Regions from separate parts of the Homo sapiens genome. Here all the other regions are linked to region 1. Evidence: promoter capture Hi-C in 16 types of primary human blood cells and fetal thymus (Javierre and others, 2016). All regions are on one chromosome and are shown on one strand. The core of a region is centred on a gene start or on the middle of the fragment in contact, and the rest is flanking DNA. Distances in the headings are between cores, read along the strand shown. Region 1 holds the start of NPTX1 (neuronal pentraxin 1). Region 2 overlaps RPTOR (regulatory associated protein of MTOR complex 1). Region 3 overlaps RPTOR (regulatory associated protein of MTOR complex 1). Region 4 overlaps RPTOR (regulatory associated protein of MTOR complex 1). Region 5 holds the start of LOC124904075. Region 6 overlaps RPTOR (regulatory associated protein of MTOR complex 1).

Region 1 (4,257 bases), core at 816-3,315:
CCCCTCAGTGCAGCACCCCAGCGGCTACCCCAACCCATTGAGGCCTGCAGTGGGGGATAGGGAGGGGCCCAGCCCCTGGCCTTTCTCCGGGTGTTTTTCATTCCCCAATCTCCGCTCCTTCCCTCTCCCTCCCTCCTGAGGTCCTTCCTTCTGATCTGTTTTTCAGTTACATAACAAGCCTTAAGATGGCACTGTTTAAATCTGTCCGGCACATTTTGCGGTCTGAGCAGGGTCACGTGGCCTTGCTCCGCACCGGGCACCCCCCCCCCTCCCCTTTTACAACCTTGTTTGATTTCTGCGACTTCAAGACAGAGCCTCCAGCGCTCATCCAGGCGCCCTGGGTGATAGACTGGCTGGCCTGAGTTGGTGACTGAGAAACCTCAGGGATTTGAAAGATGCCAGGACTTGGGTCACTCAGAAAAGAAAACCTCAGGGTAGGGGTTCAGGACAGAAGTGGGGAGGAGCTGGAGATCCTGAGAGGACACCGGGGGCATGGCAGCCGGGAAGAAACCTGCTTAACAGCCTCAGCGGCCCGGGGAACGAGAGCGCCCAGCCCCAGCCTGCACCCAGCTGTACGCTGAGGCTGGGGACCAGGGAGAGACAGGCTTTCTTAAGCAGGGAGGGTTTGAGCCAGCGACAGCCACTGTGCAAAGTTACTGAGGATTAAACAAATCAGACTTGAAAAATCCAGCGAGTGTGTGAGTGTGTCTGGATGGGGGAGGGGGCACTATGCAATCCCCTTTCCCAGAGACAGCCCCAGCCCAAGGCACCCAGCCCTGATAGAAACACCGACTAGAAGCCCAGAACCTGGGAAGGGGTGCGGGGAATGAGAAAGCGGTGCAGGGGTTGGGGGTAGCGGAGCGGCTTGAGGCTTGCACAGTGCAGAGCTGGGCTGTTAGGGATCGGGACCGAGGCAGGGTCGGGCAAGCAGGTGCAGGCAGGCAGCACGGCTCCCCCTGGCCCCAGTACCTTTCTCGAGCTCGCTGATCCGCTGGTGCAGGGAGGTCAGGGCGGTCTCGATCTTGACCCTCTCCTCGGTGTCGTTCCTGGGGCCCCCCTTGCCCTCCTCCAGGGTGTTCACCCGGGACAGCACCTGCCTCTCCAGCTCATCGATCTTGCTCTGCAGCAGATCCTTGAGGCTGTTGGTCTGGCTGGAGGAATTGAGGCGGCTGTACTGCTGCGGGGTGCAAGGGCGGGGGAAACCACACCGTTAGGCGAGGCGCGGGGACCGTGCTGGAAGGCCCGCGGCGCGGTCCCCTCTGGGCGACTGCGGGGGCGGCCTGGCAGGGAGCTGGGGCGAGTGGCCGCCGCGGGGCCTCGCAGGCGCGGGGAGGCACCGGCCGGGCACCCGCGCGGCTGAGGCGAGGGCGGGGGATGCCTGGCCGGGTAGGGAACGGGGTGGGGGAGGGCAGAGGGGCGAGCGAGCCGGAGGGGGAACCGGAGCCGAGGGCGCGCGCGGACCTCGAGGTTCTCCAGGCGGGTTTTGAGCGATTGCAAAGTTTGCCCGAGTTGGCTGAGCGTCTCGGCGGCCGGTGTCCGGGACAGGTCGCCCATGGTGTTCTTGCCCGAGCCGGGCTGCTTGCGGCCGCCGCCCGCCCGGGCCTCGCCGGCTCCGGGGTCCAGCGTGCTCTGGCTCTCGCAGCGGCCCAGCTTGGCGGTCAGCTCGCGGATGGTCTCCTTCTGGCTCAGGATGGTCTCCTTCTGCTGCAGCACCGTCTCGCGGAGCTGCAGCACGCTGCTCCGGAGCTCCTCGGCGCCGCCGGCGGCCACGGACGCGGCGCACATGTCGGCGTCCACGGGCACCGAGGTGCAGATGAAGCGCGTCGGCCCGAAATCCTGGGCCCCGGCGCCCAGGAGGCAGAGGGCGAGCAGCGCACAGGTGCGCGCGGCGCGGCCGGCCGGCATGGCTGCGGGCACCGGGCGCTCCGGGCCCGGCTCGGCTCGGCTGGGGCTCGGCTCCGGCTGGGACCCGGCTCGGGCTGTGGCTCCGCGAGCGGCCCGCGCTCTGGGCGCCGCGCTCTTCGGCCGCGCGGTCCACACCGCCGCGCTATCAGGCCCCCACTGCCGCCTGCGCTGCGGAGCCCGCGCCTTTTATGCCGCCGCGGGAGGGGCCTCGAGCCGCCGACGTCAGCGGGGGAGGAATCCCGCTTTAATTGTCCGCGGCCCGGGCCCGCGGCGCGGCGGGGGTCTCACGAGCGCGCCACCGGGGCTGCCTCCGCTCGCGTCCCCCCCGCCCTTCTGGGAGCTGCCGCGGCCCCCTCCTCCCCCGCCCCCGCCTGGGCCGGCGCTGCTGCCCCGAAGGCTCCGAGAGCTCAGGGGGAAGGAAGTCGGGCTCCGGCCCCGGACTCGAGGATGGACCACCTGCGTGGTGTCCCCGAACCTCCGACGGGGCTCCAGGCGGGCGGGAAACCACCGCGTCCGGGAGATAGAATTCGGTTCGGCCCTCCTGGCTGCACTGAACACCCTTGGGCCGGGGTCGTTTGGAGCCGGGCTGGGTGCCCAAGGACCCAGGTCGTCAACACCCGAGTGCCCGGTGGTCAACGGCTCGGAGTGGGGCCTCGCGGCGCCACTAAGTCCAGAGCGGGGGTCACCGGGCCGCCCCGCGTTTCTTAGATGTCCGTGTGCTATTGAGAAGCCGCCGGGCAGCCTGGGTACAGGGACTTCCCACGGGTCGGGGCCCCCGGCGCCTCCCCTCCCCCAGCTCCCGGGCTCTGTGGACCCGGCCCCGTCCCCGGGGGACTGTCAGTCCCCACCCCGTGCGGGCGGGGCGCTGGGGACTTCTCGGAGGCAGACCTAGCTGATCGAGCCTTTCCTGTCCGCGGCGCCGGCCCGATCGCGGGCAGGCGGCGTCGCCGGGGCTGGACGTTCGCAGCGGCGCTTCGGAAGGGGGCCCCGCGGGAGCAGCCGCCCGCGTCTCCAGCAGCTTCCCCTTGCCAGGCGCCGCGCGCGCCCGGTATCCCCGGGTGTCCACCTGTGCGTGGGGGGCTGTTTCCCGTCTGTCCAGCCGCGCCCACTTCTCAGGCCCAAAGGCCAGCAGGAAGGGTCCCGGAGGTGGCTGGGGGCGTCCACCTGAGAAGCTCCGCTCTCGCTCAGACACCCCACCCGGCACCCGCGCACTCGCGCCTTCATCTGGACCGCGGGGCTCGGCTCCCGAGATCGCGGTCCGGGTTCCGGCGCCGGGCTGGGGGCTCAGGACCAGGGCTGGCGCAGCCGCCCCGCCCCGCCCCGCCCCGGGGCTATCAGAGCGGTCAAAGCCTCGGAAATCCCTCCGTCCACGCTCCCGTGGTACAGAGAAGGAAACTGAGGCTCCGAGACTGCGGGGCCGGGCTACAGCCGTGGCCCCCCGACCCCTCCCCGCCGCCCCCGGCTTCTCTGGTCTCTGCGTTCTGCAGCCTTTCCCTGCGCGCAGCCGGGGGCTGGGGGTCCCCAGCCAGCAGGGACCCACGGGCAGTCCCGGGTGCCGGGATCGGGCGTCCGCCCCTCGGGCGGGAGCAGAGGCCGGCTCGATGGAGACCTTTTTGAGAAATGGCGGCCTCTACCCGCCCCCCAGCCCCCGAGCGCCCGCCGTCTGCGTTCAGCATCTCAGCTTTTAAGCCTCCCTGAGCCGGGGCTGCGTTCTCGTTGTCTCCTTCGGCCGCCGCTTCCTGGCGCCAGAGGGACCCCGCGGCCCGCACGGGCCTGTCCTCGGCTCCGCTCGGAGGGTGTGCGGGTTCCCGCTCCGCTGGCCCCGCTTGCCCACCACGGCGCGCCCAAACCCACGCGGCCCGCGGCCCCTTGCGTGCTCTGCCGACCCCGGGCCGCAGGAGGGGTTAGCCTCGCCGGTCCCCACGCGGGGTCTGCGCCGGCAGCGCCACGGGCTGGAACGCGCCTCGGGAGAAATTACCCGCGCGGGGTCGCGGCGTCTTCTGCCCCAACTCCCGTAGGGAGCCGCTAGGCGGGTGCCCTCCTGGCCCCAGCGCTTTGGCCTCGCCGCCCTCCCGCACGCGTCCAGTGGGGAGGCCGCGCCCGTCAGGCCTGGAGCCGGACCGTGCCCAGCCGAGAGCGCGCGGGCGCGGGAGAGGAGCCCTGCCCTGCCCAGGGCAGGCTGTTTAGACGGGGCGGGAACCCTTAGCCTGGCCCCGCGTCTCTATCCCCAGCAGCCGTGGAGCCTTCCTAGCCGCCCAAGGCCAGGGACCCTGCCTGGCTTTTCCTCCAGGGCAGCAGATCTCAGCGGCCTGGCACCTCGGCACAGAGGAGCGTGTCCCCCTTCCGCAGAGG
Region 2 (4,257 bases), core at 846-3,345, 480 kb after region 1:
TTAGAACTGAATCTGGTTTTAAATACAGGCCGTCACGTGAGGTGGGGGTTGCTCTGCTCTGTCTAATCCCCACACAAAGGGCAGCCCTTGCCCCATTCTCTCCGTCCATCCCTTGCTGACGCCAGCCGTCGGGAGTCAGCCCCTTGCTGTCTGAAGGCTGCCGGCCCGTGGCCCATGCCGAGCTCCTGTTTGTCTCAGAAGAACCGGCTTCCTCAAGCTTTGATAGGGCCAAAAGGAGGACCCTCATCTTCAAGCCTTAACAGCCTTCCTAAAGTCACCCAGACCTGCCAGTTCTGCCCAGGCGTCCAGACGGCAGGCATCTTAGACGTCGCTGCAAGGGTCTGCTCCAGATGGTGAGCACCTTAGACAGACGTTGCTGGAAGGCACTGCTCTGAACGGTGGGCACCTAACAGACGTTCCGGGAAGGCACTGCTCCGGATGTTGGGCATCTTAGATGTTCCTGGAAGGCACTGCTCTGGACAGTGGACACCTTAGACAGATGTTCCTGGAAGGCTCTGCTCCGATGTTCCTGGAAGGCTCTGCTCCGAACAGTGGGCACCTTAGACAGACGTTCCTGGAAGGCTCTGCTCCGAACAGTGGACACCTTAGACAGATGTTCCTGGAAGGCTCTGCTCCCTCTAGCGATGCCTGGGGCATAGTCGAGTCAGGGGAAGACTCAGAGTTCCAGCTCAGAATTGTCGCCCCAGCCTGGACTTGGGAGTTCCAGCTCAGAATTGTCACCCCGGCCTGGACTTGGGAGTTCCAGCTTAGAACTGTCACCCCGGCCTGGACTTGGGAGTTCCAGCTTAGAATTGTCACCCCGGCCTGGACTTGGGAGTTCCAGCTTAGAACTGTCACCCCGGCCTGGACTTGGGAGTTCCAGCTTAGAATTGTCACCCCGGCCTGGACTTGGGAGTTCCAGCTTAGAACTGTCACCCCGGCCTGGACTTGGGAGTTCCAGCTTAGAATTGTCACCCCGGCCTGGACTTGGGAGTTCCAGCTTAGAACTGTCACCCCAGCCTGGACTTGGGAGTTCCAGCTCAGAATTGTCATCCCGGCCCGGACTTGGGAGTTCCAGCTCAGAATTGTCACCCCAGCCTGGACGTGGGGCACACCAGGGTCCCTAGCGGGAGCTCATATGAGGCATATGGACCCACCAGATGGGCTCGATGGTGGCAGGGGTACCTTGTAGCTGCTGGCCAAATTGCTGCCCAGAGCAGGCCCCAAAGCCTGCCCAAGGCAAGGGCCCATGGGGTGATGCCATGTCCCACTGTATCTCTCCAGGAGCTGGGATGGTGGTGGACTGGGAGCAGGAGACCGGCCTCCTCATGAGCTCAGGAGACGTGCGGATCGTCCGGATCTGGGACACAGACCGTGAGATGAAGGTGCAGGTAACCATGCAGGTGTCCCCCAAGCCCTGGGCCTGTGGGGCAGTGTGTGCAGGGCTGGTCCTCGTCACAGAACCCAGCAAAGTGTGCGGTGAGGCCTGGCCATCCCAGGGGTGGAGTCAGGGCCTGGGAGGACAGTGCCGGGACAATGCTGGGAGGAGACGTGGGCTCCCTGAGGCCTCTGGATGAAGGTGAACTGCAACACCCAGCCCTGCGCTGCAGTATGGCTCAGGCTGCGCCAGCTCTGAGTGTTTGCAAGTAGTGTCTTCTCTCTGCAAATTAAGGAATGTCAGAAATCAGTAGGGTGACCAATTGTAAATTAGAATGATTAATTATTTGGAGGCGTTTTTTTTTTTCTTTTGAGATGGGGTCTCACTCTGTCACCCTGCGTCACCCAGGCTGGAGTGCAGTCGTGCAATCACAGCTCACTGCAGCCTCAACCTCCTGGTCCAAGTGATCCTCCCACCTCACCCCCCCCCCCCACCACCAAGTAGCTGGGACTACAGGCATGCACCCACACGCCTGGCTAATTTTTTTAACTTTTTGTAGAAACAGGGGTCTCAGTATTTGCCCAAGCTGGTCTCGAATTCCTGGCTCCGGCAATCTTCCTGCCTTGGCCTCCCAAAGCACTGGGATTATAGGTGTGAGCCGCTACAGAAGACAGAAGATTTTTGTTTCTTTTTTTTTTTTTTTTTTTTTTTGAGACAGAGTCTTGCCTTGTCGCCCAGGCTGGAGTGCAGTGGCGCGATCTCGGCTCACTGCAAGCTCCGCCTCCTGGGTTCATGCCATTCTTCTGCCTCAGCCTCCCGAGTAGCTGGGACTACAAGCGCCCACCACCACGCCCAGCTAATTTTTTTTTTGTATTTTTAGTGGAGACGGCGTTTCACGTGTTAGCCAGAATGGTCTCTATCTCCTGACCTCGTGATCCGCCCACCTCAGCCTCCCAAAGTGCTGGGATTACAGGCGTGAGCCACTGCGCCCGGCCAGAAGCCTCTTTGCTTCTTAAAGCATCTGCTATTTTCAGTTTTGACAAAAAGCGGAGTACATTGGTTTTGCCCAAGACAGCCTGGAAAAGTGGTAGAGACCTAAGCAGGCCGCGCTCAGCAGAAATCTAACTGCATTGACTTCATTTGGAGCAGAGGCGAGACCACAGATACTGTGAGGGGCAGCGCCTGAGGTGGCTTTAGAGCCAGTATTCCCTTCCTCTGGGTCCCCAGGGAGAGGTGTGGCACAGAGGCCATACCCAGCCTCTCTCCCGGGCAGGCCATCTGGTGTCAGGAGGGATGGCTCAGCCCTGCTGCCGTAGAGGGCGGTGTGGAGCAGGCCCAGCAGAGGGGAGGCCTGGGCACCCTCAGCTGCTCGAAGCTGCTGTGGTTGCTCTGGGCAGCAGCAGCCCGAGAACCTGGCCCAGGCCTTCCCGTGTGGGCAGCCTCCCCTCTGACGTGACCGTGGATCCCTCGAGGCACCAGCAGCTTTCATGGCACCTTCTTTGGGGTGGGGGGGTCTTGCACCTGTCTGGAGCTGTGGCTCCACACGAGACGTAGCCCTCAGGGCACAGCGTGGACACCCTGATCCTCAGGGTCTGGTCACCAGTGGGGGCTTAGAGGCCCAGGTGGCCTGCGGGGCAGGTGCTGTTCCTGCAGAGGTGGGTGGAGGCACAGAGCGCAGCAGGTGCTCCCAGAGCCGGCTCTGCCCCTCGCAGGGGTCTGGCCCCATCATCCCCACGCCTGTGTTTCCTCCTGGAGTGCACAACCCAGCACCGCCCATCGTGCGTGGAAAGCGCTCTCCCTCTCGTGGCCCTTTTCCTCCTGCGTCCCTGGCAGGTGCCATCGCCCCCGCCCCCGCTTCTCCAGCACTTAGAGCCCCCGAGGGAGCCAGATGACCCCTCCTGGACTCGTCCCATAGCTCATTAGAAGTTCTGAGACGCAGCCAGTGAGGAGTCCTTGCCAAAATGTGCTTTGCTTTCCTTTTTAGGAAACAGAGAGAGGTTGGAAGTTTAATTGGCACTGACAGCCAGTCCTTCCCAGAGGCGTTTGCAGGCCTCCGCTCGGGGTGGGGCTGGCCTCTGCCTCACTGGCTGGGTCCCAGGCGCCTCAGGGCCTCAGGGCTGTCCCTCCAGGGCCAAGGGATAAGGGCGTGACTCATTGTCCTGCCAGCCCCTGCCTCTCCCTGGGACTCCTGGGCTCCCCAGGCCTTTGATGCTTCCCTGGATAGAGAGAAAGGCCCCTGCAGCCAGGGAGGGTGATCCCCACAGCCAGGCAGGCAGCAAGAGGGGTCCTGGCGCTGCAGGACAGCAGGGAGGGTGGCTCGGTGCCCCGGTCTTCACCGGGCTGCCTGTGTTTGGCTCTAGGACATCCCTACGGGCGCAGACAGCTGTGTGACGAGTCTGTCCTGTGATTCCCACCGCTCACTCATCGTGGCTGGCCTCGGTGACGGCTCCATCCGCGTCTACGACAGAAGGATGGCACTCAGCGAATGGTACCTTGACCCTGTCCTCTCCCTCCCCGAGTGCTGGCAGGGTACCTTCCAGGTGGTAGGGCCGTGTCACTGCCATTTGGTTGGGTCCAGGTTTCTCAGTGAGATGCAAAGCTTCCCCAGGAGCCTGCAGTGGCGTATTTAGGCCAGTCCTGGGCTCCCCAAAGCCGCCAGGCCCGTCCCACTGAGGCCCATCCCACAAAGGTCTGCCCCACAGAGGTCCACCCCACAGCCTATGGAGGAGCACAGGGGACAGGCCATGTGGGATGAGCCAGTGGACTGGAGGCAGAGGCTGTCGGGGTGAGGCAGGGCCGCAGCCAGGCACCTGCCACCTCTGAGCTCACCTGAACAGAATACTGCCACTGCCTGCCACCTCCTGGGTCATGCAGCAAGT
Region 3 (4,257 bases), core at 654-3,153, 450 kb after region 1:
CTCAGCTCCACATCCTCTTTCTCCAGTAGCTGGGAGCTCCAGCCGGCCTGCAAAGCTGTGCGCTCCGTCCAGGCCACTTCACATGGGAGTCCCCGCTCTCAGTCTGGTGTCACGGGGCCATCACAGGAGCTGTCCTGGAACCAAGCGGCAGAGGCTTTTTGGGGGTTGATAAACCAGCACACATGGACGCACGTGGCATTGTCTGAACAGTCAGTTAGAATTGACTTGGGAGCTGTGCTGGGTCGGCCCTGGGGATGGTGGGACCGACGTGGCTCACACTTCACAGCCCGGGCCCCTCAATCCCTGGCCAGACGTTCAGGGGTTCTTGGTCACCAGGATACGGAAGTGAGCAGAGCACAGAAGTGCCGTCCTTAGGGGCAGCCCGGTGCTCCCGGCAGCGCCTTTGTCCCCAGCTGCAGCTCTTTTGAGCTCAGGAGTGGCATGACTGACTGGTGTTTCTTTTTCCTTCCAACCCTCCTGCTTAAACCCTGAAGACTGCGGACGACGCGGACGATGCTGCTGGACACAAAAGTTTCATCTCCGCCACGGTGCAGACGGGGTTCTGCGACTGGAGCGCCCGCTATTTTGCCCAGCCCGTCATGAAGGTGCGCCCGGGGTGTGGGGTTCAGAGTAGAGTCCTAGCGAACATGTGTCTGTCCCACTTCTTTGAGCATAAACGCTCAAGGCTTGTGGCTGTGGGAGCGTCCCATTGTGGTCGTGGTAGTGATGGTCACGGTTGAGGTAGAACCGCAGAAGAAACAAACTTCACTTACCTTCCTGTCGCCAAACGAAAAGAGAAAACCTGCCTCGCTGGAGCTTCCCAGTGTGACAGGTGTCACTTTGCCTTAACTGACAGGGTCACCACAGGCCTTCCCACTCCCTAATGGTGAGGATCACTCGAGGCCCATCCCAAGGCCACGCTTGCGTGGCTCCGAGGTCTGGGGACTGTTAGACGCAGCCTGCTGCAGCCAATCCTAGCGCATTTGGGGTTACACCACAAGACCATCTCTGAGGCTCAACCCTGACACAGCCCTAACAAGCGCCGTGTGCTGTGGACGCAGTGGCTGTGTTCCTGCAGGCTGGGGCAGGGCGGCGGCTCTCGGCCTCTTCGAGGAATGGGGCGGGAGCTGCTTTGTCAGCACAGTCCCAGTGCTCATCTCTCTGCCAGGGCCCAGCAGGGACTCGTGGAGATTTTCTATAAATCTAAAGTGCATTCTGAGCAAACCTGCCTCTTCCCTCATATATAATTGAAAGCTGAAACTCTCAGCTTATTCTCGATTGTATATCAAGCTTGCGTCTTAGTCATCTCTGTGAATGGTATTTGGACCCCATGACAGCTCAGTCCCTGTGGTCCTGTCTTCATAGTGAATGCTGATTTCTGTTCATAAAAACAGAACCATCAGGCAGCCCCTGAGGCAGGCAAGCCATGAAGCTTGAACTACGGAGCCCCTTTACTGCAAAGAGAGAGGAGTTCGCCTCCCTCTTCTCACATGAACCTGGGTGGACAGTGGCCTGGCTGTTCTAGAAAGCGTCTTGCCGGGAAGCATCAAACGCCTTAAATAGCCGTTCCCTTTGACCCAGTCATGAATCTGCTAAAATACTGTCTTGAGAAAATAATCAGAGATGTAGATGACTTCCGTGTTGTTTCTAAGAACGAAAATTGAGATTCACTTAAATGTCCACAGAGGGTGAATAGTTAAAAAGTTATGAAATATTTGATGAGATATTATTGGAGCTACTGAAAAGTTAAACATTAAAAATAGTGTCCTAAGGAAGCGCTCATGACAACATTCCTTAAAAAGAAAAAATGCAAAATGCAGACCAAGAAGCCAGATTTACAGAACAATCACAGCCGTGCTTCTCATACAGACACAGATGTGCATACGACGGAGACCAGCAGAGCCCGCTCCTAACTAGAGATTCGCAAATGGCGCCACCCACGACTGCACTGAATTGGGCTTCTTTTGTGCCTCTTCTGCAGTTTCTACACTAAGCACGAAGCACCTTTAGAGTCGGGGGAAAAGAATCAAAGAAACAAACCCCAGGAGATCATTGAGGCTGGTGGATTCAGTCCTAGTCAGAAGCCCCTCACCAGGCCCACCTGCTGGGCTCACCGCTGCTTACCTGCGGGTGGCATGAGGGTGGCGGCCCCTGCAGACAGAGGGAAGTGCCCCTTCCCATCACTAGGAGGCTTCTGGTTAGGAAAGGAAAGCATACACAAATCCTGGAATTGGATGCAGGAAGCAGGAGCCACCCAAACTCTGAGTGAGCCAGAGCTGGGAGGTGGCTGGACACTGTGCCAGGGGTGCCAGGCCGTCCTCTAGAACTGCGGCCCAGTCTGTTGAAAAGTCAATGGAATTTAGTCTAATGTTAACAAGCTTGGTGTCCTTGATGCGGTCTCGTGCTTAAGGCAGACAAGGTCAGGCGACTAAGAAACCCACATGGTCTGGTCTTCGCTCTTGCTGGGATGGCAGTGGCTGTACATGTTGGTAATTTCTTGGTGTGATAACGAGAGGCTTTTCTTGAAGTCCTTGAAAAATGCCTATTCTCAGTCATCTATCCTATGATGAAAGAGGAATGGCATAGATAATCCAAAACTCATTGCTCTTAAACTTAAAAATGAATTTGACTTTTCCCCAAAGGATTTGCTTTCCTTTCCTAAGCATTTTTAAGTACACAGCAGCTGATTGCAGGAGGAAGTTCCCCAGAGGCATGTGGAAGGCCGTGTGTGTGTCTGTCTGTCTGTCTGTCTGTCTGTCTCTATGTGTGTGTGTGTATCCCTGTGTCTGTCTGTGTGATGTGTGTGTGTATCTCTGTATGTGTGTATGTGTATCTCGTGTGTGTGTCTGTGTGTTTCTGTGTGTCTGTGTGTGTGTGTCTATTTGTTCCGGTGTGTGCAAGCCCCAAGCCAGCGTCTCCTCTCCCTTTCTTCAGATTAGCAGCCCCTCCTCCGCCTGCCCTCATCTCCTCCATTTGCACATCTGAGAATTCCCGCCCGCACGGAGGAGCTGGAGGGTGTCAGCCTTGTGGTCTGGCCCTGCCAGCAGGTCCTGCTGTGTGGACACTGCAGAGGAGATTAGTCCAAGGGGATCCATGTAGGAGCTGCCATCACACAGGAGGTTGATCAGGAAACGGTTGCTGAATGAGTAAATGATTGTCTTCCTCTGCCCCTGCCAAGTATTTGAAAACAAATGCTCACTTGGTTGTCGTTGAAACAACAGGCTCTGGGTGTCATGATGGAAAAGAGCGCCGTGTTGTGGTCGGCGTCGTCTGTAACTCCTGATAGCAACTGCAGTCTTAGGAGTGTCTTTAACATTAGAGACCTTTTCCAAACTTCAGAAGAGGAAGCAGGACGTGTTTTCTCTTGTTTAAAAAAAAAATTGTTTTCCTACTTTTTCTAGGTGGTATTCATAAAGGTATTCTTTTACTGATTTAATTCATCATCTAATGACATTTGTGTAACGAGCTGCATTAGGAACTTCTTGTTATTAGCCTGCTTCACATGTAAACTAAAAATAGCTCTAAGGCTAGGATTGAACCTAAAAAAGAACAGAAGAACTGCAAACCCGAAACTGCTTCAAGGTATATAAGAAACTAAAACAGTTACCAGGTCACAAAATAATGACCAGTTTACACTGACATGCAACTAGCGATTAGCAGGATGAGCATCCAAGGACACCGTGGTAAGGACAGCGTCTGCTAACGTTTTTATTAGTTCACCGTCAGATTTCGTACAGGTCCGTATGACTAGAAAGAGCCGTGTTCTGTCTGCGGCTCACCTTTGATTGGTGAAGCAACCTCCTTTCTTCCCATGTTGGTTTACGGAGCTCGTGTCTACATTAGAAACCACAAAAGAATATTAAAAATGGTCTGCCGTGTGCTTAAGAAAGAAAAAGATGTATTGAATTGTGTTCTGATTACAAAAGTCATACAACTTTTTTCTTCTCTCAGTTGGAAGGTTTCAAAAATTGATTCTATCCAGAGAATCAATCCCTACAAGGCTGTAGGGGCATGTGAACTCTCAGACACTGTTGGTGGGTGGGTCCAGTACTCCCTTTGCTTAGGGCAATTAAGCAGTAACTGTCAGGATTAGAAAAGGGTATACCTGCAAAGCCAGCAATCCTGCTAGGAGGCATATATTCTTAAAAACCACTAATATACATGTCCATGAAAGGGTTCTGCCCGGAGATGTTCATGATAACATGATTTGTAATGGGAAAAAGTTGAAAAGAATCACTTAGTAGGAGAGTTAATTTA
Region 4 (4,257 bases), core at 1,115-3,614, 430 kb after region 1:
CCAGGAGCCCACATAGCCCGTGCCTGCCCCCCCTTCTGGTTTCCAAGTGCTCACAGCCTCCACCCCACAATCTCTGATTGGCTCCTGCAGGCTTCCGTCAGGTATCCCCCAAGGCTCCGCGTCCCCATCACCTCCGTGTTTTATTGTTCAATGTCTTAGATCTTGTTTGTGCTACCCCCTCTCGCTCCACCCCTCCTTTGCCCAGAGAATGATCCTCCTTCCCTTCAAAGCCCAGCTCCTTCGTGCCTCTTCCACCAGGCCTTCCTGGCCTTCACTTCCTAGCCCACTGCTGACAGAAGGAGTCACTCTCGCTCCTTCCTGCATCTCCCTGAGGCCGCACGCTGTCGTGGACGTAGCATGGCTCAAAGGTTTGATGGGTGTGCGTTCACATCCTTCATCCTCTGGGCCTCACCTTCCTTGGCGACGCTGGGGGTAACACCTGCCTGTAGGATTGCTGGGGAATTAAATAGGACCGAGCAGCCGCACCGACGAATCCTCACCGACGAAGCCTCAGCGCTTCCCTCCATGCCCACGACTCACCAGTGTTATTTATAAATGAGTCTGAGTCCCTGCTGGGTCCTGCCTTGTCTGTCTTTGTATCCGAGTATGCAGCACAGAACCTTGCATTGAGTGTTGGGTGAGTCGGGAGAGGCTTAGGGACAAAAGTCACAGCACATCAACCTTTCGTGAAGTCCTAGCATCTCAGAGCAGGGCCAGTGCCTGGAGGTGGACAGGAAGCACGTGGAGGTGGGCAGGAAGCACTCCCTGGGTCACAGTGCACAGCAGCACGTGCTGAACTTGGTGCAGTGCAGACGTCCATGCCACATGCACCACTACCCATGGGCTGCGGCAGCTCCTAGAAATCTAGGATGTGACATCAGACGCTCCTCCGGGAGTGTGGTCATGCCCTCCGATCCGCTGAGGCATTTCAAGGAAAGTTACACCCTTTCCAACGCAGTTTTCCTTTTAGAAAGATTTGGCCTCAGTAGATGAATCCATGTGATCAAGCCTAGTGATCAGCTAGGATTCTTGAATCTCGGGACCCGTTGCCAGAATAACAAAATGGGGGCTTCCTGTAACCTCGGCTCTTTAAAGCAACACTTCTGATACCAGGGTTAGGGTTTCAGAAAATGCAGCCGCCTTAGGAGCCTCATTGGCAGCTACTTTCCACTAAAACATCTTCCATTTCTCTCTCTCAGGAGTTTCCTTTAACAGTGTTTACACTCAGATTTGGAGAGTCCTGCTGCACCTGGCTGCTGACCCCTATCCAGAGGTCTCGGACGTGGCCATGAAAGTACTCAACAGCATCGCCTACAAGGTACGTGCCGGGCGCTCCCCACCGCGCTCCAGCTGCTGGTTCTCGGTTACGAGTATGCATGCCAGGAACTCCAGGTGTGCCCGGGTCCACACCACAGTTTAGAAAGTAACAAAACGAGCTTCAGCAAATATCTTAAATCTGGAGATGTACACAGTACACCCCAAACTGTGTCTGTGCAGCTCCCACGTGGGCAGAGGGTGCTGGATTTACTGATGCCTGTCAAGGCAATTAGGGGAGGACTGACATTATCTTTCAGGATCCTCTGGTGTCTGGGTGAGCTACAGTGCTGGCCCTTCTTCCATTTTTTTTTTCTTTCTTTACTTAATTATTTATAAGAGATGGGGTCTCCCTGTGTTGCCCAGGCTGGTCTTGAACTCCTGGGCTCAAGGGATCCTCCTGCCTCAGCCTCCCAAAGTGCTGGGATTACAAGCGTGAGCCACTGCACCTGTTTTTTGTTTTTGTAAGACAGTCTCACTCTGTCCAGACTAGAATGCAGTGACCTGATCACGGCTCACTGTAGCCTCCAACTCCTGGGCTCAAGCAATCCTCCCACCTCAGCCTTGGAAGTAGCTGGGACTACAGGTGCACACCACCACACCCGGCTAATTTTTAAATTTTTTGTAGAGACAGAGTCTCAGTGTGTCGCCCAAGCTGGTCTCTAACTCCTCAGTTCAAGTGATCCTCCTGCCTTGGCCTCCTGAAGTGCTGGGATTACAGGCATGAGCCACCACACCCAGACTTTTCTTCCCTTTCTGATAGCAGTAATTTTTGACTCATTCAAAACCCTTCTAGTTAATGGTTTCTTATTCATGGCCATTCTAGCTCAAGGGAACTTTTCAAAGAATCAGTTTTTGGTTTCATTGGTTTTTCTCTGTTGTTTGTCCATTTTCCATTTGATTGATTGAGCTTTCATCAATAAAGCTTGCTTTCTTCTGCTTACTTTGAGTTTAATTTGCTCTTCTCATCCTAGTTTCTTAAGGTAGAAGCAGAGGTCATTGATTTTAGTCCTTTCTCTTTGGGGACTGTAAACTCTTCTCAGTCCCTTTTGTGAGCTCTGGGCATTTGGCCTACCGCCTTCCCGCTGTTTTTTCTCTGCCTCATGGGTTGTCACTCTACCCTTGAGCAGATGAATACTTAGTCAAAGACCCCAGGGGCCTCTCCTGCAGACCTTGGAAGCTTTCCCCTCTCCAGTGCTCTGTCCTGCAAATTGTCACCACCTCAGCCTCCCTGGAGCCCCAGTCTCTGTCTCCTGTTCCCTGAAAGTGCTGGGCTCCCCGTCTCTGCACTGTGGCCTGGGACTGCCTGAAACTACCTGCAAGCCGGACACAGGGCAGCTGTTTATTTCCGTTCTCTCAGGGATCACAAGCCCGTGACACCCAGCACCCAGTGTCCAAAAACAATTGTTTACGGTATTTGTCCTGGTTTTCTAGTTGCTTATGGAAGTTGGATGATTTATGTGGAATTAGAAGTCACTCATTATAGCACTTAAAAATTTTTTGGTAACTTTTTGATAAAACTTCAAAAGCTTACAGAAATGTTGCAGGAAGAATGCAGGGAAAGGCCACACTCTTGCAGCCTCTGTGGTGTTCTACGTCTTCATCTGACCTCGTCACGGCTATGGCGTTGCCTCGGGTATCACTCAGTGCCAGGGTCTGCAGGGTCGAGGAGCCACGGCTTCCCATCCTAGTCCATCGCTTTTTCCAAATGAGCTATCGAGTCTCCCCCTCTCATTTGCTGTGGCCTTCTGGGTCCTGGCCGGCCATCGAGCCAGGGTTCCTGCAGCTCCTCAGCTCCTTTTGCTGATATTATACTTCTGTGGCTTTCGGTTCCTTCAACTAAGTTATTTTCTGTTGGTCTAGTTATATCTTAGATGGAAATCACCTTACCGTCTGCAGTTGGTTCTTCTTCAGTTCTTTTTTTTTTTTTTTCTCTTGCTCTGTTGCCAGGCTGGAGTGCAGTGGCACAATCTCAGCTCACTGCAGCCTCCGCCTCCCAGGTTCAAGCAGTTCTGCTGCCTCAGCCTCCCAAGTAGCTGGGACTACAGGCGTGAGCCACCACACCCGGCTAATTTTTGTATTTTTAGGAGAGACGAGGGGTTTCACCGTGTTGGCCAGGATGGTCTCGGTCTCTTGACCTCGTGATCCGCCTGCCTCGGCCTCCCAAAGTGCTGGGATTACAGGCGTGAGCCACTGCGCCTGGCCTGTTCTTTATGGTATCACCGGTATAGTCACAAGTAGCCTATTGGCCAACTTGGAAAGGTCCAGATTGTTTAATTCTGCACCGGCCTCCCCTCCTGCAGCGGACTCTGCCACTTCCTTCGTCACCGCATCCCTGCAGCGGATTCTGCCACCTCCTTCGTCACCGTGTGGTGTGGCCAGCTGCACGGGCACCTGGAGACGTTCATCCCCAGGCAGCAGGCCATCTCCTCAGGTTTCTTTTATGTGCTACTGGCCTGTTGAAAATAGCCAGTCAATTAAGTTAATGTTTTCATTATGCGGTAAGAAAACTAAGAAATAATATAATTATTTGCTTTTAAACTAGGAATAAGATAAATACAAAAATAAACCTCAGGCTGGGTGTGGTGGCTCACACCTGTAATCCCAGCACTTTGGGAGGCCAAGGCGAGAGACGATCACTTGAGCCCAGGTGTTTTGAGACCAGCCTGGGAAACATAGTGAAACCCCGTCTCTACAAAATAGTAGCAAGTTAGCCGGGCACGGTGGCAAGCACTTGTGGTCGCAGCTACCCAGGAGGATGAGGCTGGAAGATCCCTTGAGCCCAGGAGCTCAAGGCTGCAGTGAGCTATGATTGTGCCACTGCACTTCATCCTGGGCGGCAGAGTGAGACCGTGTCTTTTAAAATAATGTTTAAAAATATATGTTTGTTACACATTATGGTCTGAGACCAAGAAGGGGAGGCAGTAAAGCAGACAGGAAGGA
Region 5 (4,257 bases), core at 1,309-3,808, 410 kb after region 1:
CACTTGTCAGGCACGTGCCACGTGCCGGGCCGGCTGGGGCCTCAGTGACCCCGCAGGGCACTAACCCTGCCTCTTCTCTCAAGAAAGTTACCCCTGGAGCTGGGGGAGGGGCTGGGTGTGAGAGTGGTGGGCCGGGGTGGCAGCTGAGCAGAGCCAGTATGGATGGGGCTGGGGGCACAGGGAGGCCTTGCCACAGGGAGAGGCCCAGTGCAGGGGCTGTGCCCATCAGAGGGCGTGGGCACAAGAGGCCAGGAGGGCAGTGGGGCAGGTGGCCCAGCCAGGCACAAGCCTTGTCGTTCGTGATCAGAGGCCTGGAGGGGTTTGGGGGCAGGACCTCACCTTCGGCTGCCCAGGTGAGAGGGGCCGCTCGCCCAGCTGCAGGGACGGCGCAGGAGGGAAGAGGCACCAGCACTTTGAATGCGGAGCTCACAGCACTTGCTCACAGGTGGAGAGGGTACGAGAAAAGAAGAGGACAGGGAATCCTGGGGGTTTGGGTCTGAGCAACAGAAGAGCAGAGTTGCCCCTCGTTGAAGGGGCCAGCCATGAAGGAGCAGGTTCCAGGATCACGCATGGACTCTGAAGGTGGGGAGCCGACAGGAAGGGCTGAGCTGACAGGTGAAAGTATGAGTCCAGGCAAAGCTGCCTCCCTTTCGAGGAAGGCTGCTCAGCCCCAGCCAGGGAGCAGGAGGACAGACAATGGCTTTGACAAGCGACCGGTCAGAGGACCTGGGAAGCCTGGCCAGTGTGGAGCCCGTGGCCACTAATGTGGCCTCCCCGTCTGTGTGCTGCTGGGGAGCCCTCAGGGGGAAGGGGTCACATGACAACACCAGCCAAGCTCATCTTGCAAAAGCTGAGAGAGAGGGGAGCTCCCACACCCCTGGCTGAGCACCTCTGCCAGACCCTCTGATGGGTTCTGCATGAATATCCTAAAGAAGGCCAGTGCGTGTGTGTGTTGCTGTCAGAGCCCAGCTCCATTCAGGAAGGGCAGGAAGGGTCCAACGCAAAGGAGAGCTCTTTGCTGTGTGCCAGGCAGCAGCCTCCAGAGCGAGGCCCGCCATCTCCAGCAGGATGTGCGGCCTCCAAGGGAGGCCCCCGTACGCAGCAGGATGTGCGGCCTCCGAGGGAGGCCCCCGTATGCAGCAGGATGTGCGGCCTCCGAGGGAGGCCCCCGTACGCAGCAGGATGTGCGGCCTCCGAGGGAGGCCCCCGTACGCAGCAGGATGTGCGGCCTCCGAGGGAGGCCCCCGTACACAGCAGGATGTGCGGCCTCCGAGGGAGGCCCCCGTACGCAGCAGGATGTGTGTTCGGGAGTGAGGGAGGCCCCTGTATGCAGCAGGATGTGTGTTCAGGAGTGAGGGATGTGCGGCCCCCGAGGGAGGCCCCGTGCGCAGCAGGATGTGTGTTCGGGAGTGAGTGCTCTCTGGACATTCCCCTTGAATAACAGACGTGGCCCCTGTTGGCCTCCCCTGAATCGAAGGGCCCACCACCTCGGTGCACGTTAATCCATGCCAGCTCCCAGCTCTGGCTTTTCTCACCTGATGTCAGAAGGAAAGGGAAAAAAATCGGTGCTTTCTGAAGACAGGTGCAGCCTTGATCTTCCCTGGAAGGGGCCCAGTGGGTGTTCGCTTTGTCGGAGGCCCCGTCTCGGCAGTGCCTCACTCCTCTTGCACAGGGAAGGCAGCGGGGGTTCTGTGGTTTGCCAGGGGAGCCTGGGACAGTGACTTAGGCAGTTGGAGACGAGCGCCAGAACCGGGGCGTGGGCCATGGCCGTGAAGACGCACACTGGGCCATGGCCCTTGGTGCCCAGCAGGGTGGGAGGGGCGGGTGGAGGGTGATGCCAGGGCTCCATTCTGAGCAGTGAGAGACTTGCAGTTCCATCGGCGCAAATCAAGAGGGCGCTGCAGGCTGAAGGGAAAGTAGACGGTGCCCGCAGTTCATAGGGCAGGGAGAGTTTGGGGTGCAGGTGAAGAGCCGGCAGCTGGACAGCCAGCCTGGACCTAGGAGAGTGAGGGGCCGGCATCAGGGAAACCACAAAGCATGATAGGAGGAAGCCCGGGGCATGTAAGGCTGGGGTGGGAAAGTGCGTGTACAGAGAGTGCGTAGACGGAGAGTGGGGTGGCCACGAGAAGACCCTGGTCCCTGGTGGGCGCCCATCCAGAGCCTGCTCATCCAGCCGCTGTGGAGACAGGGGCGTCACGCGACTAGCAAGGGGTCCTCTCACAGCGCTTGGCTTTCTGCTAAGAATCCGTATTTTTTCTTTTCAGAAAAAAAAAAGGCAGAAAAAGTTGTCGTAGGGAAAAAAACGTTCTTTCCGCTTTTTAAACCTACATCCCCCTTCTGTTCCCCAGTGACTTCTAGGATCTCCAGCTGTTCCTGTCACAGCACTGAACTGTCCTAAAAGAGAGGCAAATTGTGTCTGTTCCCTTGGACCAAGGCATTTGGTCCTAAAGATGATGTTTTAGTTCTACAACTTTTCCCGTTCCCTCTTAGGGACTAGAAACATCTACCAATGAAAGTTTCACATGTGTTGAAAAGAGCAGGCTTCGGCTTGTCCGCTGCACTCGGCCCTGGGGCGCTCAGATTCAGAAAGGCCGCCAGCCATCGGGTGTGATCTAGAGCGGCGTTTTCAGCCAGGGTCCCAGTGGTCACCGTAAGCGAGAGGCTGTGAGGCCTCCTACCTTTCCCTCTCTGGAGTCCTGTGACTCACCGTGTCCTTACGAGACCCCCGATGCGTCGTGCGCCTCTAGCAGTGGGGAGGATTCTGGCAGGCATTCTGGGCTTCCCCCGTGAGCCAGTGGCCTGCCGTCTCCCAGCACTCTGCTATTCCAAGGCCTCTGCTCTGACGGTTCGAAAAGGGATGGTCCCTGTTTCTGATGCCAATTGCACGGTTTTGTCTTAACCTTTCTTTTTTCTGTTGGTGACTCAAGTCTCACTGCTGCTCCACAATCATTTTCCAGCCCCAGTGACTGTTATTGTCCCTTCTCCCTCTCGGCAGGAGCTGGTGGTGGCTCTGAGTCATCTTGTGGTTCAGTATGAAAGCAATTTCTGCACCGTGGCCCTGCAGTTCATAGAAGAGGAAAAGAACTACGCCTTGCCTTCTCCAGCAACCACAGGTATGGCGTCTTCTCCTGTGAACCCGCAGAGCACCTCGCCTGGCGGTTCTAGTGCAGGCCGCGGCCCAGTCTTGCTCACCCTCGCAGAGTCTAAGCGCAGGTTTCTCAGATACCTGCCGCAAGGGGTCCCTGTTTTTCTCATCTTTTTAGGCACCTGCCAGATTTAAAAGGGCAGGAAAGAGGGCCACACTGACCCTCTTACATTTTTCCTTTCTTTTTACCCTTTTTGGAAATTAAACTCACAGAGACCTTGAAGTATGACAAAACTTCTGCAGTAGGAGCTTGCGGAAAAGCGCAGGGGCCGTCTTCCTGCGATGAGTAATTTCATCACACTGCTCTTGGCTCCGTGGCTCGGTGAGTCATGTCAGGCGTGCTTTCTCACACGTGTCGTTTTGACTGGAGAGTACAGTTCCTATCTCATCGCTGCCGGCAGCCCCTCCCGCTTCCACACAGCCGTCTCTGCCGTGCAGGGGCTTGTCATCAGCAGTGAGGCCTCACTGCTTCTAGGAAGCCCAGGAGGGGAGAAGGGTGAGCCAGACTGAGTGTGGACGGTCATTGCTCTGCTGCGGCTTCCCGGGGAGCACGGCTCACGGCCCACGTCACCATGCACCTCGTGTGCACTCGGACAGGCCGCAGCCACCAGCCTCTCCCCTGTTGTCTTTTGTAATTTAATATGCACAGAGCCACAAGCGGTTGTTGTTTGTCCAGTGCTATCCCGCAGAGCCTCCGCTCACGTCTGAGTCTCCCTGAGCTGTGCAGCCCCTGCTCTGACATTTGTTGCAGCACAGGTAGCAGCTGCCGTCACCGAGTGTCCCAGCTGCTGAGTGTCAGAAGACACGCTGGCCTCCACCTGGAAGCCCATTGTAATTTGTCTTTCTCCTTCTTTCCCAGAGGGAGGGAGTTTGACCCCAGTGCGAGACAGCCCGTGCACCCCCAGACTTCGTTCTGTGAGCTCCTATGGAAACATCCGTGCTGTCGCCACAGCCAGGAGCCTCAACAAATCTTTGCAGAACCTGAGTTTGACAGAGGAATGTAAGATCCTGGAAATCGGGTTATTGGATTGGGAGAGATTGGGGTTGTTTTTTCTGAAACACTGTATCTGAGTAAGCACCACTCTGCCCCTGCCCCTTCGTCTAAGTGCGTG
Region 6 (4,257 bases), core at 1,758-4,257, 390 kb after region 1:
GTGTGTGTGGCGCCCTGTCAGGCGGCTTTCATATGCAAAGTCTCTTAATTCCTAAGTCCCCTGTGAAGTTAGCTTGAATTTGCAGCCTATTTACTGGTGAGGCGCCGCCCACAGGAGGGAGCAGGGGCCACATAGCTGCCATGCGAGGGGCCGGCACCCCACTGGGCCCCTGCGCCGGGTCTGGAGCTCCTTGCCCACACAGGGAAATGGAAGGTCTAGCAAAGTCACAGAGCAAGTACAGGAGAGTGCCAAGAACACCTTGGAGAGGCCATGGCTTGGAGCCGGGGAAGACCACCCTTTCCTTTTCTGTGTGGCAGGTGAGGGGAGAGTGGACGGAGCTTAAGCCCCCGGGGCTCCTGCCTGCTGCCCGGCGCTCCCCAGGCCACATTCTGTCAGCTCCTCCGTCCAGTCACTGGCACTGAGACCCAGCCTCATCCTTAGCCCTGTCAGCCATGTCGCACTGGCCACCAGGACCTGCTGTGCTCGCTGAAGCTGCCCTGTTGGGCTTTGTTCAGCCAAATTCACTGACCCTGTTGTCCAGGCACTGGCAGGCACCCCGAGCCACAGGCTCGTACCCCGCACTGTGCGCTCTCACCCGTCAGCCCTGCACACCCCACACAAAGCCACTGCTGTGTCTCCCACCCACAGCCGCTGCTGATTCAAGTCCAGCCCAGGCCATCAGGTCCCCAACTGTGCTGCCCACGGACCCCTGGGCCCCTGCTCAGCCCTTCTGCTCCCTGCACCCAGCCCTGACCATAGCCTCCCCACACCCCAAGTCCTCACGTACTACTTTGGTGTCACAGCTGAAGTCAGGGGGCAGTGGGGAGGCTGCTGCCGAAGCGGACGGTGAGGGCTTCCACCTTGGAGGCAGGCGTCAGTCGTACCCAGCACCAGTTGACCTCTCGCTGGTTCCGCTGATTCTTGTAGATTCCCTGGGATTTTCTGCTAGTTCACTGGTTCTTGTAGATTCCCTAGGATTTTATGTATATGCTCTCTCCAAGCAGAAGCAGCTTCCAGCCCCTCTTCCGGTTCTGGGATCTCTCACTCTTTTTCTGGGCCTGGGGCACTGACCATGGCTCTGCTGGCACGGGTCGGCTACCGTGCTTGCCATCTCTCCCAGCTGCTCCTGATTTCCTGAGCTGGATGCGGGGAGCTGCTGCTCTTCCTCTCAGCACAGCTGAGGTTGACCTTGACCTCAGTTCAACCTTGAACCCTCCTGGGCCCAGTGCTCTGCACCTGGCTGTGACCAGAGAACGCTCCATAATGGTGACCTGAATACCATATATTTCAGCAAAATATTTTCCCTGCTACCCATTAAACTACAGATAAAGAATGACTGCTTTGAAAGATTGGCTAAAGCACTGGATTTAAGGTTAAAACCCTGAGTTTGATCCCATCACCGCATTTGCTCTTACAAGTCATTTTCACTTCCCTTGGCCATGATTTGCCTCTGTAAAATCATGAGCCTTCGGCCGTCTGCCTTCAGCCACAGTTCCAGAGCTCAGAACCAGGACGTGGAAAACTGCTGTGTAAATTATAGAGGAACAGGAACAGGACCAGGAAGGGGCACCACGTAAATCTCACATCTCTCCTGCCTGTCCCTGTTACACTAAAACCTTTTCTTGCTAAACAGAAAGCTTGGCTTTGTGGATCAGGACGCGAGAGGTGTGGGTCATTTCTATTTTACTCTTCTTCAAATTCACTGAAGAGCCACATTATGTAAACAAAGGGTGTTTGGCAGGAAGTCATTTTGAAACGTGGTTTCTGTCCTACACCCATATCTTCGTCATCTACATGGACACACTTAGAAATATCTTGGCACCTGGCCACGGATGAAGGACCATGTGTAGGGGCTCTGGGATGCACAAAACGGTGACCCTCACATGACACAAAGCCCAGGGTGAAGGGAGGAAGAGATGCCATCTGCATGCAGAGGTCTGGGATTACGGCCGCCTGAGCCTGCTCCCCAGCACCGCCAGTGCTGCAGGAACGTGTCTAAGCCAACTTTGATTCTCAGACTTCGTGTTTTTAGTACCTTTTAGGACCTGGAAATTGATGATGTCTTTATTTTTAGTCTCAGGGGTGGCTCTTGGTGAAAGGGGACAGCCTTCCTCGTACCTTCCTCGTGACATTCTCACTGCATCCACAGCCCATCATGGTATTGCAGTGCAGGGCGTCTTGTTTAAAACTGGCTCTTGGTCCCGTGGATCTCCCAGGGCCTGTTGCTCTCGAGTGCCCCAAATGGCAGAACGTGGCCATGAGCACGGAGGCTGCAGCGTGCCTTCGTTTTACACCCTGCTCCAGGCAGATACCAGGGCCTCGGGTTTATTATTCATGCTGCTGAAGGGGTCATCTGCTCAGTACTGCTTGGGGAGCTGTTCCCACAGCCAGCTGGGCATGCCCTTGCCTGCAGTGTTCTTGTAACTGCCTGCAGGCATCACAGGCCTTCCTGTGAATTAATTTCTTAACCAGCTTGTTGCACCTGCATGTTTAAAAGCAATCATTCCACTGAGGGGCATTTTGAAGTGTTTCCGGTAGAAACTGAGCCTCGTCTACCTCACCTGCCTCGCCCTTCCTTCCATCGTTACCCTGGCGATAACTTCCCAGAGATGAAAGTTCCCTGTGTTTTTGAGGGGTCATTCCTCTACTCCCTTCCCCTCCCCACGTCTGGCCATGGATGTTGCTGGCGGTCCTCCGGATCTCCACCCCTACCCCCCCATGATGTGTGCACCCCCTACAATGTGTGCATGCCCCTCTGTGTTGGTGATGGTCCTCCGAAGCTCCGCCCACCATGATGTCTGCTCCGCCCCCTCGTGTTGCTGGTGGTCCTCTGGAGCTCCGCCCACCATGATGTCTGCTCCGCCCCCTCCTCGTGTTGCTGGTGGTCCTCCGGGGCTCCGCCCACCATGATGTCTGCTCCGCCCCCTCCTCGTGTTGCTGGTGGTCCTCCGGGGCTCCGCCCCCACATGATGAGTGCCTCCTGCAGCCCTCAGCCGTCCCTGTGACTCCTGGGGCTTGCCATTGTGCAGATCGGGGTGCACATGGTGTACAGACGGGTCCACCTGTGAAGATCGCAGAGCCTGCTCAGAGGTTCAGAGGTGCAGACAGAAGCCAGCCACTCCCCCAGTGTTCTCAGCATCCCCCTGCTGCCGCCAGCCGGCCCTCAGGACACACTTAAGAGTTTGAGAAGGATCGGAGCCCACTCAGGCTGGGCCCAGCGGAAGGGCGAGCCTGGGACCTCCCCTCATTTCCCAAGCACCTTTGGGGCACACCGTGTGTCCCATTGTGCCAGAAGCTCTGAGGGATTCATGGGGAGGCCTTAAAGAAGGTGGGCTCGGGCGGAAGAAAAGACGGAAGAACACCATGTGCCACCGGGGAGAAGTGTGTGCCGTTTACATGAGACAGAGCAGGGCACAGTGGTGACACTGATCTGACACAGATGGTACCGCACAGGACAAGGAGCACCAAGGGGGGCACATGAAGAAAGCCGTCTGTCCAGGATTCTCCCAGGACTCTGATCCCAGAGGGCCTCCCCCAGCATCACTCCCCATGCCAGGTTACACTCCACTTCACACTACCAGCCAGAAATTACCAGGCAGATAGAATCAGGAAAATATGACCCGTAATGAAGAAAAGGAAATCAACCCATTAAAACCTGCTCAGAACTGCTGCAGGTGTTATCATTAGCAGGCCAGGACATTAAAAAGTTAGAAGTCTACTCTACATATTCAAAAAGTTAAATTGAGACACGGAGAATATAAAAAGAACCCAACTTGAATTTCTAGAGATGAAAACTGCAATATGTGATGGGAAGAAATATACTTGATGGGATTAACAACCAGTTAAGCATTGCAGGAGAAAACAGTACACGGTTAGGCACGGGGCTCACGTCTGTAATCTCAGCACTTTTGGAGGCTGAGGCAGACAGATCACTTGAGTAACCAGGATTTCAATACCAGCCTGAGCAACATGGTGAAACCTCGACTCCACATGAAAAAATACAAAACTCAGCCATGCATGTTGGCGCGTGCCTGTAGTCCCAGCCATTCAGAAGGCTGAGGCGGGAGAATCGCTTGAGCCCGGGAGGTCGAGGCTGCAAAGAGCCGTGATTGTGCCATGGCACTCCAGCCTAGGGAACAGAGTGAGGCCCTGCCTCAAAGAAAGAAAGAAAATAGCAATAGAAACTAACAAAAATGAAGCATGGTAAGAAAAGAAAAAAAAATTTAATTAAAAGAATATTATTCCATTGCGGGACAA

What was found. The method cuts DNA at HindIII sites, captures the fragments that hold promoters and counts their contacts. A CHiCAGO score of 5 or more calls a contact.
Region 2: a contact is called between a fragment that was not itself captured here and the fragment with the promoter of NPTX1 in region 1, in 12 of 17 cell types (endothelial precursors, activated CD4 T cells, naive CD8 T cells and 9 more). The highest score is 12.9, in endothelial precursors.
Region 3: a fragment that was not itself captured here is called in contact with the fragment with the promoter of NPTX1 in region 1 in 10 of 17 cell types (endothelial precursors, activated CD4 T cells, naive CD4 T cells and 7 more); the score reaches 11.6 in endothelial precursors.
Region 4: a contact is called between a fragment that was not itself captured here and the fragment with the promoter of NPTX1 in region 1, in 12 of 17 cell types (activated CD4 T cells, naive CD4 T cells, total CD4 T cells and 9 more). The highest score is 17.9, in activated CD4 T cells.
Region 5: a contact is called between a fragment that was not itself captured here and the fragment with the promoter of NPTX1 in region 1, in 8 of 17 cell types (naive CD8 T cells, endothelial precursors, non-activated CD4 T cells and 5 more). The highest score is 9.5, in naive CD8 T cells.
Region 6: a fragment that was not itself captured here is called in contact with the fragment with the promoter of NPTX1 in region 1 in 1 of 17 cell types (endothelial precursors); the score reaches 6.9 in endothelial precursors.

Annotation. Positions count from the first base shown.
Region 1 is chr17:80,474,542-80,478,798 of GRCh38, forward strand. It overlaps NPTX1 (neuronal pentraxin 1), which reads right to left and starts at 2,066. Exons shown (of 5, transcript NM_002522.4): 1 at 1,462-2,066; 2 at 970-1,177. The coding sequence starts at 1,905. RefSeq lists an enhancer at 520-1,053. The HindIII fragment of the contact is 19,396 bases long and covers 1-4,257 here.
Region 2 is chr17:80,956,340-80,960,596 of GRCh38, forward strand. RPTOR (regulatory associated protein of MTOR complex 1) reads left to right here. Exons shown (of 34, transcript NM_020761.3): 29 at 1,285-1,391; 30 at 3,739-3,866. Among named protein-coding and RNA genes, the nearest start is that of CHMP6, 33 kb to the right of the region's middle. RefSeq lists an enhancer at 3,048-3,565. The HindIII fragment of the contact is 3,760 bases long and covers 216-3,975 here.
Region 3 is chr17:80,924,876-80,929,132 of GRCh38, forward strand. It overlaps RPTOR (regulatory associated protein of MTOR complex 1), which reads left to right. Exons shown (of 34, transcript NM_020761.3): 24 at 495-605. Among named protein-coding and RNA genes, the nearest start is that of CHMP6, 65 kb to the right of the region's middle. The HindIII fragment of the contact is 946 bases long and covers 1,431-2,376 here.
Region 4 is chr17:80,907,612-80,911,868 of GRCh38, forward strand. It overlaps RPTOR (regulatory associated protein of MTOR complex 1), which reads left to right. Exons shown (of 34, transcript NM_020761.3): 21 at 1,200-1,318. Among named protein-coding and RNA genes, the nearest start is that of CHMP6, 82 kb to the right of the region's middle. RefSeq lists enhancers at 2,781-3,010, 3,131-3,320, 4,089-4,138. The HindIII fragment of the contact is 255 bases long and covers 2,238-2,492 here.
Region 5 is chr17:80,888,725-80,892,981 of GRCh38, forward strand. It overlaps RPTOR (regulatory associated protein of MTOR complex 1), which reads left to right. Exons shown (of 34, transcript NM_020761.3): 18 at 2,996-3,113; 19 at 4,005-4,145. It overlaps LOC124904075, which reads right to left and starts at 3,447. Exons shown (of 2, transcript XM_047437253.1): 1 at 1,536-3,447. The coding sequence starts at 2,020. The HindIII fragment of the contact is 9,458 bases long and covers 1-4,257 here.
Region 6 is chr17:80,859,764-80,864,020 of GRCh38, forward strand. The region is part of intron 13 of RPTOR (regulatory associated protein of MTOR complex 1); the gene reads left to right. Among named protein-coding and RNA genes, the nearest start is that of CHMP6, 130 kb to the right of the region's middle. The HindIII fragment of the contact is 2,745 bases long and covers 1,636-4,257 here.